Linked DNA regions of Homo sapiens: region 2 is linked to region 1. Evidence: promoter capture Hi-C in 16 types of primary human blood cells and fetal thymus (Javierre and others, 2016). All regions are on one chromosome and are shown on one strand. The core of a region is centred on a gene start or on the middle of the fragment in contact, and the rest is flanking DNA. Distances in the headings are between cores, read along the strand shown. Region 1 holds the start of PTK2 (protein tyrosine kinase 2). Region 2 has its middle 17 kb from the start of DENND3.

Region 1 (6,785 bases), core at 2,063-4,562:
CATGTTACTGCACACTTACTATAGTGTAAACCTAACTTTTATATGCACTGGGAAACCAATTTGTGTGACTCATTTTATCGCAGTGGTCTAGAAACAGACCAAGATATGCCTATACTACAGGAACTAAACTTCTCAGATGTTTTTCACCAGCAAAAAAGAAAAATTCACTTCAAATATGATACAAACAGTATAACTTTTAATGTTACTGAAATTTAAAACAAGAATTGATCTAGGTCTAAATCTACATCAGTTTAGAATGCCTAAACTGAAAATGTTAAATTTCAAAACTGAAACTTTATAAACACTTTGAAATGCATCTTTTGTAACTCAAGATAATTTTAATTATTTTCTAAAAATTAAGACATCATAAAATACAAGGGGAAAAAGGTTTCCATAACCTTTAGAGATATGAACTAAGATCCTACCTCTCTAACTCAAATCAACATTCAGGAAAGGACAGTTTTCAAAATTATTTTTTACATTATAGAATACAATATAAATAATTTCATCTACAGGACCTAATCTTTTTTTTTTAAAGAGGCTACCTTTAAAACAACAGGATCTTCAGGCCAGGCGCAGTGGCTCACGCCTGTAATCCCAGCACTTTGGGAGGCCAAGGTGGGCGGATCATGAGGTCAGGAGATCGAGACCACCCTGGCTAACACGGCGAAACCCCGTCTCTACTAAAAAATACAAAAAATTAGCCGGGCGTGGTGGCGGGCGCCTGTAGTCCCAGCTACTTGGGAGGCTGAAGCAGGAGAATGGCATGAACCCGGGCAGTGGAGCTTGCAGTGAGCCGAGATCGCACCACTGCACTCCAGCCTGGGCCACAGGGTGAGACTCCGTCTCAAAAAAAAAAAAAAAAAAACTATTTTCTTAGACAATTTCTCCAACTCCCTAGAAAGAACAGTTATCTGACTAGCTGGAGAACATGATTTTGAGGACTGAGGGAGTAAGTTATGTAATTTCCATCAAGAAGCATGGTGCTTTTCAGAAAACATTTTAGTATAAAACGTTTTAATGATCCTCACTGCCTCCTCACAATTTCACTGCTGGATTCATGGAACTTCACTCCTAATCTAACATTATTCACTTTCAATGGGCTTCCAGCCTCAAATAATAAGGCTTTTTAAGTCCCATCTCCTCTCAGAGTTTGCCCCAGTATTCTTTGCCCCAAACCGTAAACATGGAGTTTTGATTTCCATGTCTTTATTTAACCAATGACTTGCTTCTTGATGCATCACCACTGAATGATGTATGGGTCCTTCTAATCAGCGTCTACACTGAAGTCTTAGGTGATTGTCGGCTCCCTTATAAAGGAAGCATGTGTTTTAAATAATCTGTGCCTGTGTTCATTATTAAACTAGATTATTTGATAGTGACCTGAAATTCTTTAAAGGAAAACCTTGTAATATTGATCTTGTTGTTTCTGCAGTTTAATAAACAAGAAGGTTCAAAATGATGGTAGGTTCAGCCTGTTTTTCCCCACCAAGGATAACCACAAATACAAAACACAAAGATATTGGGACACAAACATCCTTAAAATGTTCCTTGTTTGAATATCATAGGGCTTTTCTAATTAATTGGCTAGTATAACTGGATGAAAATATTATCTATACTGTACCCCAACAAAAATACGTTGAATGCTAGTTTACTTTTATGTGTCTTGTAACTAGTTCATCCGTGTGCTTGCATCGCACTGCTCATAAGTTTTCAAATATGGGACGGAGTGCTCAACTCTCGAAGACATCATTTTCATTACCCGTTTCCCAAATAAAATATTAAGGTTGAGGCTCTGGTATTTCATTTCAAATAGTACTGGTCTGTTTTTCCAGCCATGAAAACGTTTACATTCTAAGTAAAAATCCTAGCGATGGTTAAGTCTTAAATACAAATCCCCAAACTCTTGCACTGCCTTCAGCTTTCAGCTTGAATGTATAACCAGTTCCCATAATTACTACAATATTACTATTATCTTAGTCTCATTGCCAAAAACCCAGCTGCAGGCTAACTATGCAAGAATGAGACACTGTTGAAATGACTCGGAAAAAAAAAAAAAAAGAAACTTTACCCTCACTGAATTTAGCTACAAAATTCTGCAATTAAATGAAACCAATTCACACACACACACACACACACACACACACACACACACACCCCTTCTTCTAAGAAAGAACAGGATGCCGCTACACAAGGAACCCAGAGAGAAATTCGGCAAACAGTTGCGCCTAAGCCACCGCGGCAGAGTCGGGGGCTGGGGGCGGGGAAGAGGAGAAAACTTGGGAAGCACAATGACTCCAGTGAGGACTTCAGTGAGGGCTCCAGGGCTCCCGCCAAGAAGCCCACGGGGCTCTACCAAACTTGAGGGTTTGCGTTCGGGGACACGGCGGGCTTGGGGCTCGGGCACCGGCAGGCCGCTCGGAGCCCACCCTTGGCTGCCCGCGAGGCCGCGCCCGGGGGACGGAGGTCGGGCCGTCGCGAGCCTCCCTCTCGCGTCCGGGCGAACCCTGCCGACGTCCCTGCGATTTCCCTCTTCCTCCTCCTGCCTCTCCCCTTTTGTTTTTCAGGCATTGGGTCCGCTCCGGCGGAGGCCGGCCCGTCCTCCCCGCGCCTCTGTCCGCCCTGCGCGCCCCCAGAGCCCCGGCCTCCTCGTCTTCCTCAGGCCCCTCGGCCTCTCCGCGCGCCCGGCCTTTTCGAAAGCCGCCCCCCCCTTCCTCCTCACGTCTCCCGGACTCCCCACGTCCCCCAGCCTTTCTGTCTTCCCCGAACCCCTTGGCCTCCCCGCGCGCCCCCAAAACCCCCGACCTCCTCGAGCTCCCGGCCTCCCCACGTCCCTCAGCCTCCCAGTCTTCCCCAAGCCTCCCGACCACCCAGCGCCCCGAACCCCCGCCTCCCAGCGCGCCCCCTGACCTCCTTAAGCCTCTCGGCCTCCGCGAGGGCCCCCAACCTCCTCACGGCCACCGGCCTCCCCTCCTCCCAGAACCCGGGCCGGGGGCGCGGGAGGGGCCGGTCTCCGCCGCATCCGCCCCGGGACTGGTTGGGCGGCCCCGCTCTGCCCCTCCGCCCTCAGGGCCGCGGCCCAGCCCACGACCGCTGCACAGAAGGAGCCCGCCCAGCCCCCGACCCGCGCCCCGCGCCCGGCGCCCCGCACTCACTCGGACCGCGGCTCGGCGCCGTGAAGCGAAGGCAGACGACGACGGGGCGGCGCTGGGCGACAGCAGCCGCGCTTCCTCCCACGCCTCACGCCGCGGGCTCACAGTGGTCCGGGACCGGCGGCGGCGGCGGCGGCGCGGGCTCGCGCCCTCGAGGCCGTGCTGCGTCGGCGCGGGCCCGCGCGCGTGCGCGGCAGCCGGCTGAGGCGCGCGTCCTCTCTCGGCAGCGCACGCCCGACCCGGTCTCAGTCCGGAGTTCCCGCCTCTCGGGGGGACTGGGCATGCGCGCCGCCCCCGCGCATGCCCAGCGCGCCGCTAGGCTCTGCTCGCGTAATTTGTCCTGTAGTGACCGCGCCGGGGTTTCGGGGTGGCCCGAGGCTGCGCGCGGGCGTGGCGGCCGGACGAGGAAAGCCCTGGTCTCGGGGGTGGCCGGGGTCGCCCCGCCGAGCGGACATCCTGGGGTCCCACCTGCCTCGCTCTCCGCCAGCGGGATTAGACGGACTTCGGGAAAGTCCTCCCCATCTCCTTCCCTGCCCCCAAATCCCGAAGGGGTCCCCTCTGGAGAACCTCCCTCCTGAGCGGCCCTGCGGCCCCGCCCCCAGAGTTGGACGCCCGCTGTCGGGCACCCGCTGCGGGCCCCGGGCCTTGCAGTGCACTCTCCAGGCACCACACCGACCCTAACGAGCGGTTCCTGGGCCCTTTTTGCAGACAAGGAAACTGAGGCTCAGAGATTCTTTTCATGGCATTATAGCTAAGTTGGGCTGGGCCATTATTTGATTTTGGAAGATGAAAAATCATGAAAGGGACTTAGAAGTCCACTGGAGGTAGACAGGTTACCTAAATGAACGCCAGCAGGGAACGAGCCCTGCAATCCCTCCCGAGGGCTACAGACCTGAGACGGGCTCCAGGAAAAGGAGGGAAGGCTCGCCCCGACACCGACCCGGGCTTCCGCGGTGTGAGCCAGTTTCAGCGAGGAGCTAGTTGGTTATGACCGGAACGTGCCGTAGGTGGGGTGGGGGAAATAGCAAAAGGCGAGGTTGGAGGGATTGAAAAATGCAGACGGCTGCGTGGGGCTTGCTTAGGTGCCTGGAGTTTATTCTTTAGGCAACAGGGAACCTTTGGAGGGCTTTAAGCAGGAAGTGATAACTGATTTGTGTTATTTAAAAAAAAAAAAAAGTCACTCTGGCAACCTTGTGGTCGGAAATGAAACCAGAAGAACCCTCAAGGCTGCAACTTTCATTTTTATGGTGTCATTTTGATGCTAACCACAAGCCAGGAAGCAGGACAGACAGGCACCGAGGCCTTTTGAAAGGTGAACACCCTGAAGCCCAGAGAGGTGACACACGTCATTGCATTAGGAGCTTTTATAAAAGTAAAAATGAAGTAAAATAAAAAGCTTTTGCTTATCAAGATTTTACCATATTTAAATGTTTGGGTTGTATTGTTCTTTAATGAGATGTATTAAGGTTGGTGTTTTTCTGGGTTTTGTTACTTTTTACTACATATGAAATTGTAAGGAATTGCCTCTCCATGCCAGCCTCAGGCCTTTGCGCGTGCTATTTGCTCTGCCTGGAACTTCTTGCTCCTCACTTCGTTCAATACCCTGCTTATATATCACCTCATTGATACAGCCGACCACTTCATATAATAGGAACCACCCACTGCCCTGCTATCCTCACACACAGTCCGCACTTAGTCTGCTCTGTTGTTCTCCAAAGCACCTATTGTTCACCATAGCCCAACACTGTGTTCTTGTTTATTTCTTGATTGTCCGCTCTCTCCACTAGAATCTTAGATTCATTAGAGCACGGGCTTTGTTTTGTTCACTAATAGGTCCTGGCACACAGTAAGTATTTGTCAAGTGAATGAACGAAGCTTTGGGTGATGTGAAGTGAGAGCTTATTATTAAAAGGATAAGAAAAGCATGGGAATTAAAAGAGGAGAGTGGAGGCACAAAGGGACTGCATTAAGGATAACTTTGGGGGAAGGGGCTGCACTTAGCATAGTAGACTAAAAATGGCCATCAATTCTTTGACACTTTTCCCAAGAAGAGGTGGAATTTATTCACCCCTTGAATGTGGATGGGATCTTGTAACTTGCTTTGACCAATGGGATGTGTCACAAGTGACATTGTACAAATTCCAAGCCTAGGCCTCAAGAGGCCATGCTGCTTTCATTTTCCCCCCTTAAGCCCAAGCTAGCCTCACGAGGAGGCCGTGTGGAAGAGAACTGAGGCACCCTGGCCAACAAGGTGCCACCTCCAGACATGTGAGTGAGCTGTACTAGACCACCCAGCCCCTGTGAAGCATACATAAGACCTGGAGAGACTGATGGAAGAACTGCCCAGCTGAATCCAACCCAAATTGCCAAACCACAGAATTGTGAGCCAATAAAATACATGTGGTTTTAAGCCTTTAGGTTTTAGGGTAGTGTGTTACACAATATTGTTTCCTGGACTCTGCCACGATACATTTGAAATTGACGTTCTTGAAGGGCAGCTTTGGTTATTATTATGCTTAGTAAAAGAAGAAATCAGAAAACGGCGGGAAGAAGTGATGCAAAGGAGAAGGGCAAACAGAGATACAAACGGGAAAAGGGACAAACCTAGGAAACAGTGGCTTGTCTTACCTCTTGGGCACACTTTGTGGTGCCTGAGAACTCAGGTTTAGGAGTAAGATGAACATTGGCACAGACCCAGGCTTAAGTTTAACCATTCACCAATAAACCTGTGAAGGTTGTATAATGTCTCTGAGCCTCAATTTCTCATCTGTGAAATGGAGGCTCTAAAGGATGTACATTAGAATTAGGCTGTAGAGAGGCCGGGCACGGTGGCTCACACCTGTAATCCCAGCACTGTGGGAGGCCAAGGCGGGTGGATCATGAGGTCAGGAGATTGAGACCATCCTGGCTAACAAGGTGAAACCCCGTCTCTACTAAAAATACAAAAAAATTAGCCAGCGTGGTGGCGGGCGCCTGTAGTCCCGGCTATTCGGGAGGCTGAGGCAGGAGAACGGCGTGAACCCGGGAGGCAGAGCTTGCAGTGGGTGGAGATGGCGCCACTGCACTCCAGCCTGGGTGACAGAGCAAGACTCCATCTCAAAAAAAAAAATTAGGTTGTAGAGGAAACAAACCATTCTCATAAAACAGCAGGGTGCTTAGCATATATAAGTGTTATTGATCGACTATAGCATTGCTTTATCGATTACTAATAATTTGCATGATGATGGAGGGGTATGCAAAGGACCACCAGAGCACAGAGTCAAGGAAGGCTGACTTCTCTCAGTCTCTGTGGGTCAGAACCTGAATACGCTGTCTCCAGACCTCATAGCAACCCTGTGATGTAGACGCTATTATCGGCACCTCCATTTTATAAATTTGAAAACTACTGCTCAGACAGCTGGGCGCAGTGTCTCACGCCTATAATCCCAGCACTTTGGGAGGCCGAGGCGGGCGGATCACTTGAGGTCAGGAGATCGATACCAGCCTGGCCAACCACAGTGAAACCCTGTCTCTACTAAAAATACAAAAATTAGCCGGGTGTGCTGGCACGTGCCTGTAATCCCAGCTACTTGGGAGGCTGAGGCAGGAGAATTGCTCGAACCCAGGAGGCGGAGGTTACAGTGAGCTGAGGTT
Region 2 (6,785 bases), core at 2,217-4,716, 110 kb after region 1:
TGGGACTGATGGCAGCTCTGTGTTTCACCCATTGAAGAACCAATGTTTTGAAAACCATGAATCTGCTCGCACCTCCCATGTTTCATGAACATAGATTCCACACCTCTGTTTGGTAGCAGCATCATGCTCATCACGTGGATGTGGCCACTGGCATGGCTCATCCACAACGGCACCTTCTTGTGCCTGGTCAGTTGTTTTTAGGGTAAATTCCAACAGTGAAGGTGTAAGGTCAAGGTCAAGCCACTTGTGTTACATCACGCCTTCCCTCGGGAGGCTACCAGGGCCCTCCCCTACTGGAATCCATCAGGCCCTGTTCCTCACATTCTCCACGTTCTTTTTCGTCCTTGTCAATGTCATAGCAGGAGACACATGGACTCTGGAGATATGAGTATGAAGTCAGCCTCTAAAAATGCTGATATGCACTTCTCTGCACAAATCTGGGTCATACATGGTGTTAATGATAAATTCTCTGGGTGCTGGGATTATAGGTGATTGCTGTTTGTTTTGCCAATTGTTTATATGTATTTTCCATTTTTTCTACAATGAATGTGTATTACTTGGGTAATAAAAATAAGTTTTGGCTGGGTGCGGTGGCTCATGACTGTAATCACAACACTGGGAGGCTGAAGCAGGAGGACTGTTTGAGCCCAGGAGTTCAAGACCAGCCTGGGCAACATAGGGAGACCCTGTCTCTGCAAAGAATAGAAAAAATTAGCTGGGTGTGGTGACGCTCACCTGTAGTCCCAGCTAATTGGGAGGCTGAGGCAGGAGGATCACTTGAGCCAGGGAAGTCGAGGCTGCAGTGGGCTGCAATGGCACTGCTGCATTCTAGCCATCCTGGGCAACAGATACTGTCTCAAAAAAAAAAAGTTTTAAACAATGAAGTGGGGATGTGCTTGGGGTCTCTCCTCACGGGAACCCATTAGAGGGCAGAGCTGATCCTGCCAGCCCATCTGCCCACCTTGGGTGGGTTTTGGGGGCACAAACCCATCCTTGCCCTTGGCTGTGAGGCTGTCCTGGCAGCGCCCGCCAGCAAGAAGGTGGCAGTGCTGGGAACATGGGCTGTCTGGGACCCTAAAACTCCGCTGGGTCACTGCAACCTCCACCTTCCTGGTTCAAGCGATTCTCCTGCCTCAGGCTCCCCAGTAGCTGGGACTACAGGTGCCTACCACCATGCCCGGATAATTTTTGTATTTTTAGTAGAGACGAGGTTTCACCATGTTGGCCAGGCCACCGCGCCCGGCCATGTTTACCACTTTTAAGTGTGCAGTTCAGTGGCATTAAGCACATTCATAACATCGTATGACCATCACCACCATCACCTCCAGAACGGCTTCATCTTCCCCGGCTGAAACTCCATCCCCACGAAACACTGGCTCCCCATTCCCCTCCCCCAGGCCCCGGCTCCCACCACGCTTCTCACTGTCTCTAGGGACTCAGGTGAGTGGAATCCCACAGCATCTGCTCTTTCCTAACTGGTTTCTTTCACAGAGCGCCGTGTCCTCAAGCTTCCGTCTTGTTGCAGCACGTACCAGAATTTCCTTCCTTTTTGAGGCTAATGCAAAAATTAGCTGGCATGGTGGTATGCTCTTGCGGTCCCTGCCACTTGGGGGGCTGAGGTGGGAGGATCACTTGTGCCCAGGAGGTTGAGGCTGTAGTGAGCTGTAATCACACCACTGCACTCCAGCTTGGGCCACAGAGCAGGACCCTGTCTCCAAAAAAAAAATAAAAATAAAAATAAAAAAAATATATATATATAAATATATATAAATATATATATATATGGCTGGGTGCAGTGGCTCACACCTGTAATCCCAGCACTTTGGGAAGCTGAGATGGGGGGATCACCTGAGGTCAGGAATTCGAGACCAGCCTGGCCAACATGGCAAAACCCCATTTCTACCACAAATACAAAAAATAGCCAGGCGTGGTGGCGGGTGCCTGAAATCCCAGCTACTCAGGAGGCTGAGGCAGGAGAATCACTCGAACCACTAGGAGGCGGAGGTTGCAGTGAGCTGAGAGTGTGCCACTGCACTCCAGCCTGGGCGACAGAGTGAGACTCCATCTCAAAAATATATATATGTATCTTTAAAATAGGTAATTGCTTATCAATAGCACCAACTTCCTGAGCTATTAGGCCCCGCATCAGCTTTGTTGTCCTGATGCTATTCTCACTATGTCCCCTGCGGGCAACGCCGTCCACGCAGGCCACGTGTCTGTCTCTCATTCCAGCCGAGAGGCGTGCAGGGCCCCCTGGAGTCATTCTGGTCAGGGTGGGGCAAATCTGTAGGGTTGGGTTGAGAGGGGAATCCCGTGGCTCTTCTTGAGGATTTGAGGGGATTCCTTCAGCCGTGGTCCCAGGAATTCTCACGAGCCCCCATTCCGCTCCCGGGGCTGATCCAGACGCTGTGGATACAGCTGTGAGCAAGGGACCCACACTCCTGCTTCTCCTCTGAGTGAGGCAGGACCATCGCATGTTGAGAATAGAAGGAGGGCAAGGGCAGAATTAAATGAAAATTTGCTTCTGTCGTGGGAGGGGTGCATGTGTACGGTAAGAACGACCCCCCAGCTCTGCCCTTTATTTGCAAAATGTCTTTGAAGAGAAAGGAGGGCCGGGCACAGTGGCTCATGCCTATAATCCCAGCACTTTGGGAGGCAGAGGTGGGCAGATCACTTGAGATCAGCAGTTTGGGACCAGCCTGGCCAACATGGTGAAACCCTGTCTCTAGTAAAAACAAAAACAAAAACAAAAAATTAGCCAGGCACAGTGGTGAGCGCCTGTAATCCCAGCTACTGGGGAGGCTGAGGCAAGAGAATCCCTTGAACCCAGTAGGTGGAGGTTACAGTGAACTGATTTCGCGCCGCAGCACTCCAGCTTGGGCAACAGACGGAGACTCTGTCTCCAAAAAAAAAAAGAAAAAATAAAAAGAGAAAGTAGGAGCCATGTGTTCATTCCTTTGTTCACTTAATAATTCATTCATTCACTCATGCAAGACCATCACCCTGGGCCCTGAACCTGCTTCTCAGGTGGGCCACACCTGAACACATTCTACAGAGACTTCGAGGCTATTGGGGCCCATGTGTAGGGTCAGGGAGGACGGGCCAGTGGGTATGCAGAATAGGGTGGGGGCACCCAGCTTTGGGGTCCTTCGGGATTTCAGTGGATCGGCTGCTAATAACAAGCCCTTCCTGAGGGCCCCACGCTGCTTGCCTGTCGGTTCTGCCTCTGAACCACGAAGAGGCTGCCACCTGGCTCTGCTACGGTGACCGACCGTCCCAGTTTGCCTGGGACTGAGCGACTTCCTGGGAAGCAGAGCTGTTAGTGCTAGACCTGGGACAGCCCCAGGGAAACCAGGATGCTGGCCACTCCAGCTTCTGCCCACACGGCCTCCTCCACAGGAAGACTTCCTGAGCCCCTCCTCCCACAGCATGGCTCCAACGCCCTTGTGTTCTGGGGCCGTTGTTGGGGAATTCTGTTGGGACGGACTGTTTCTGTGGCCTTCTGGGGCTGTCCTTGGGGAATTCTGTTGGGACGGACTGTTTCTGTGGCCTTCTGGGGCTGTCCTTGGGGAATTCTGTTGGGACAAACTGTTTCTGCAGCATTCTGGGGCCATAGTTGGGAAATTCTGTTGGGACGGACTGTTTCTGTGGCATTCTGGGGCTGTCGTTGGGGAATTCTGTTGGGATGGACTGTTTCTGCACCTGTCTGTTGGACAAGCAGTTAAGCCCCTCATGAGTAGAGAGACCCTGCCTCGTCCATCCTTGTGCCTCCAGGGTCTAGCCCCATGCCTGCATGGCCGCCATTCCTGGACCTGGACTTGACATCCTGTTCTGAGTTGCAGTAGTTGTTCCGTAGTTACAAAGCAGTGTGTGCACGGGGAGAGGGCAGTGGCAAGGGAGCACCTGCACAGGTGAGTCAGGAGGAGCCGCTGCATGGGGCAGGTGGGGAAGGAGCAGAGGAGCACCTGGGCAAAGGCAAGGAAGGGCTGGAGAATTAGACGTAGCCAAGGTTATCTTGGGTGGGAGTTGGGAATGTGCAGAGGGGCTGGCAGGGATCTCGACGGAACACGTTGCCCTGTGGAGGGCCTTGAATCTGCCGTGGGGCTGCAGCACGTCTTGAGGGCACTGGGAGCCACTGGAGAATCCTAAGCTGAGGCAGGAGAATCATTAAGCAGGGGAGGTGCCTGACAATCCACGTGCTTCGCCAGGGTAGGGAAACTGGGAGGCACTGCCAGATGCAGGGGCCAGGGCAGAGGACAGAGCGGAGGCTGAGGGGGTCAGGTGGCACCTCCAGCCTTCTTCTGGGCTGGGTCTGCGCTGAGAGCTGCTTCCTGGAGGAGGAGAGATCAGTAGGGCCTGGGCCCCTAGGCCAGCATGTGGCTGCCCGGCCAGGAAAGTGCTACCAGAGAGGCACGGCCGGCTCCCTGTGGCTATAGCCTCAGCTCAGCGGGAGAGCTGGGGTCAAGCCAAGACCCTAGCAGGGTCCAAAGAGGGCTCCACCAGGCCAGGCTGGGGAGGAGGGCTGCCTGGGGTGATCACCCGTAGCCATCACTAGGAGGCAGACGGGGGATCGGCCCAAGAGGTCATGGCCACAAAGATGCTCCAAGGCTGGACTGTGGCGGCAAGTGTGGGGAACGAGGCTTCAGGGCAGAGCACTAATGCTTCTTTCTGCTGCACGCGGCAGGGCACCAGGCCTCTCCAGGGATGTGGACATGGGGGCTGGACTCCCAGCTGCAGACCTGCTGTGGGGTGCCTCTGATCAGGACTTCGGGGTGCCTCTGAGCAGGACTTCTTCTGAAGCAAGACTAACGGGAGCCTGGAGGCGACGGGAGAAGCCTGTTCAGAGTCCCCGGGATGAAGCGGGCCCCTAGTGAGCGGGACCTGCTGGCTAGCTGGGACCCCCCATTCTCTCTGTGTCAAATGGGCATGCTTGCTCTTCCCTCTTGAAGTATGGTGAGGATTAAATAATGGAGAAGGTGTAGACAGCTCTAAAACCCAATGAGTGCGGCTGTCGTCAATATGCAGGCCTCTCCGTAAACCAGCGTTAAAGAGCTCTGCAGAGTTTTGCAGACAGTGAGGAAGCCGTGTGCTTCCCGGCATGCATCCTTTATATGTTTCTCTGGGTGTTTGTTTCCAATTAGAATAATCAATTACACACTTGCCAGGTGTCTCATGTATGAGCCAGTTGGGAAGATTAAAACTGGACATTAATGCAGCAAGAGGAGGTGCTTAACTCGTGTGATAAGGTAGCAAAAACCAGGGTGAGAATAAAACACTTTCGGGAAAACTAAACAGCGGACTCAGTATCTGTCACCAAACTGTGGCCAGCGTGGTGAGGTGACAAGAACAGCCTTTCTGATCAGTTTGGAGGTTAAAAAGACTTGTGGAATGATTGGGTCATGAGAAGCACATGGTTTATTTCAGTAAAGCTTCTTTTACATAAGCAAGTTTTAGTCTAAAGAAAGATTTCACATTAAGGGAAAGTAGAATTACAGATTGACTCAGCACTTCATTTACATGTCTTTAAAAAGTGGCTAAGAAAAATAGTCCCCTTTGTAAGGGGCTATTGTAAGAAAATGATTGCAAGAAAAACCCCATAGTAATTGTAAGATGATTGTAAGAAAAACCCCATAGTAAATACAAAACCATAGAAGCCCTTTTTGTAAATCTTCCTCCAATGTCTGGGTTTTGGGCAGGGTGGGATGGAGTTGGGGCCCATGACTGGAGAGGCTTTGGAGTGTCAGCATCATGTAGGCGTGTCACCCACACTGGTCCCCTTCTGTGACCCTTGGGACGACCACTCCCCTTTAACGTAGAGAAAGGCAGTGGTACTTGAAGATCACCCAGGCGGGATTCAGCCCAGAGCTGGGTTTGCTCCAAACACCTTGCTTCTCTCTGTCGGTCATGGCAGAACGCCAGCCTCTCTGAGAAGGAAAGACCAACACCCATGCTTAGCAAGCCTCAAGACCCGCTTCTAAAACCTGCACCCTCGTTGGCCTTGGAGTGTAGCCTGGAGCAGGTCACCTGGCCCCTTGGGAGGTCCCAGAAGGCAGGACCCTGGCTGCCGTGTCTCCACATCCCTGACTTACAGGTGCTCAGTTAATGTGAGGTGAGGTGCCTTCTAGACTCCTTTTCAAGAGACTCATTACAAGTGGACTAGCGCTGTCCAAAAGAAATAGAATCCGTTGAAATCCTGTCATTTGCAACAACTTGGGTGGAACTGAAGGTCAACATGTTGAGTGAAATAAGCCAGGTGAAGAAAGACAAATTTTGCATGTTCTCACTCATATGTGAGAGCTAAAAATGAAAACAACTGAATGCATGGGACGGAGAATAGAAGGATGGTTACCAGAGGCTGGGAAGAGTTGCAGGACGGGCATGGTTAATGGGTATAAAACTATCGTTAGAATAAATAAGATCTAGTATTTGATAGCACAACAGGGTGAAGACAGTCAACAATAATTTATTGTATATTTTAAAATAGCTAAAAGAGTTGAACTGGAATTTTACTAACACAAAGAAATGATGCGTGCTTGAGGTGACGGACACCCCAATTGCCCTCATGCGATCATTATGTGTCACACATCTATGTCACATATACATATATAAGTACAGGTACTCATAATGATTAGAAATAAAATTGTTTTAAAAAAATAAATAGAATTCAAGGCACAGATGTAATTTTAGAAACCACATTTTAAAAAGTAAAAAGAGGCCAGGCATGGTGGCTCATATCTGTAATCTCAGCACTTTGGGAGGCCAAGGCAGGTGGATCACTTGAGCTG

What was found. Contacts are between HindIII fragments. The CHiCAGO score rates a contact against its expected background, and 5 or more counts as called.
Region 2: a fragment that was not itself captured here is called in contact with the fragment with the promoter of PTK2 in region 1 in 1 of 17 cell types (total B cells); the score reaches 7.4 in total B cells.

Annotation. Positions count from the first base shown.
Region 1 is chr8:140,997,970-141,004,754 of GRCh38, forward strand. It overlaps PTK2 (protein tyrosine kinase 2), which reads right to left and starts at 3,313. Exons shown (of 36, transcript NM_001352702.2): 1 at 3,156-3,313. RefSeq lists silencers at 2,978-3,307, 3,328-3,747. The HindIII fragment of the contact is 6,005 bases long and covers 1-4,546 here.
Region 2 is chr8:141,108,000-141,114,784 of GRCh38, forward strand. No RefSeq gene overlaps it. Among named protein-coding and RNA genes, the nearest start is that of DENND3, 17 kb to the right of the region's middle. RefSeq lists enhancers at 3,887-4,408, 4,409-4,928, 5,344-5,483, 6,084-6,163. The HindIII fragment of the contact is 3,921 bases long and covers 1,507-5,427 here.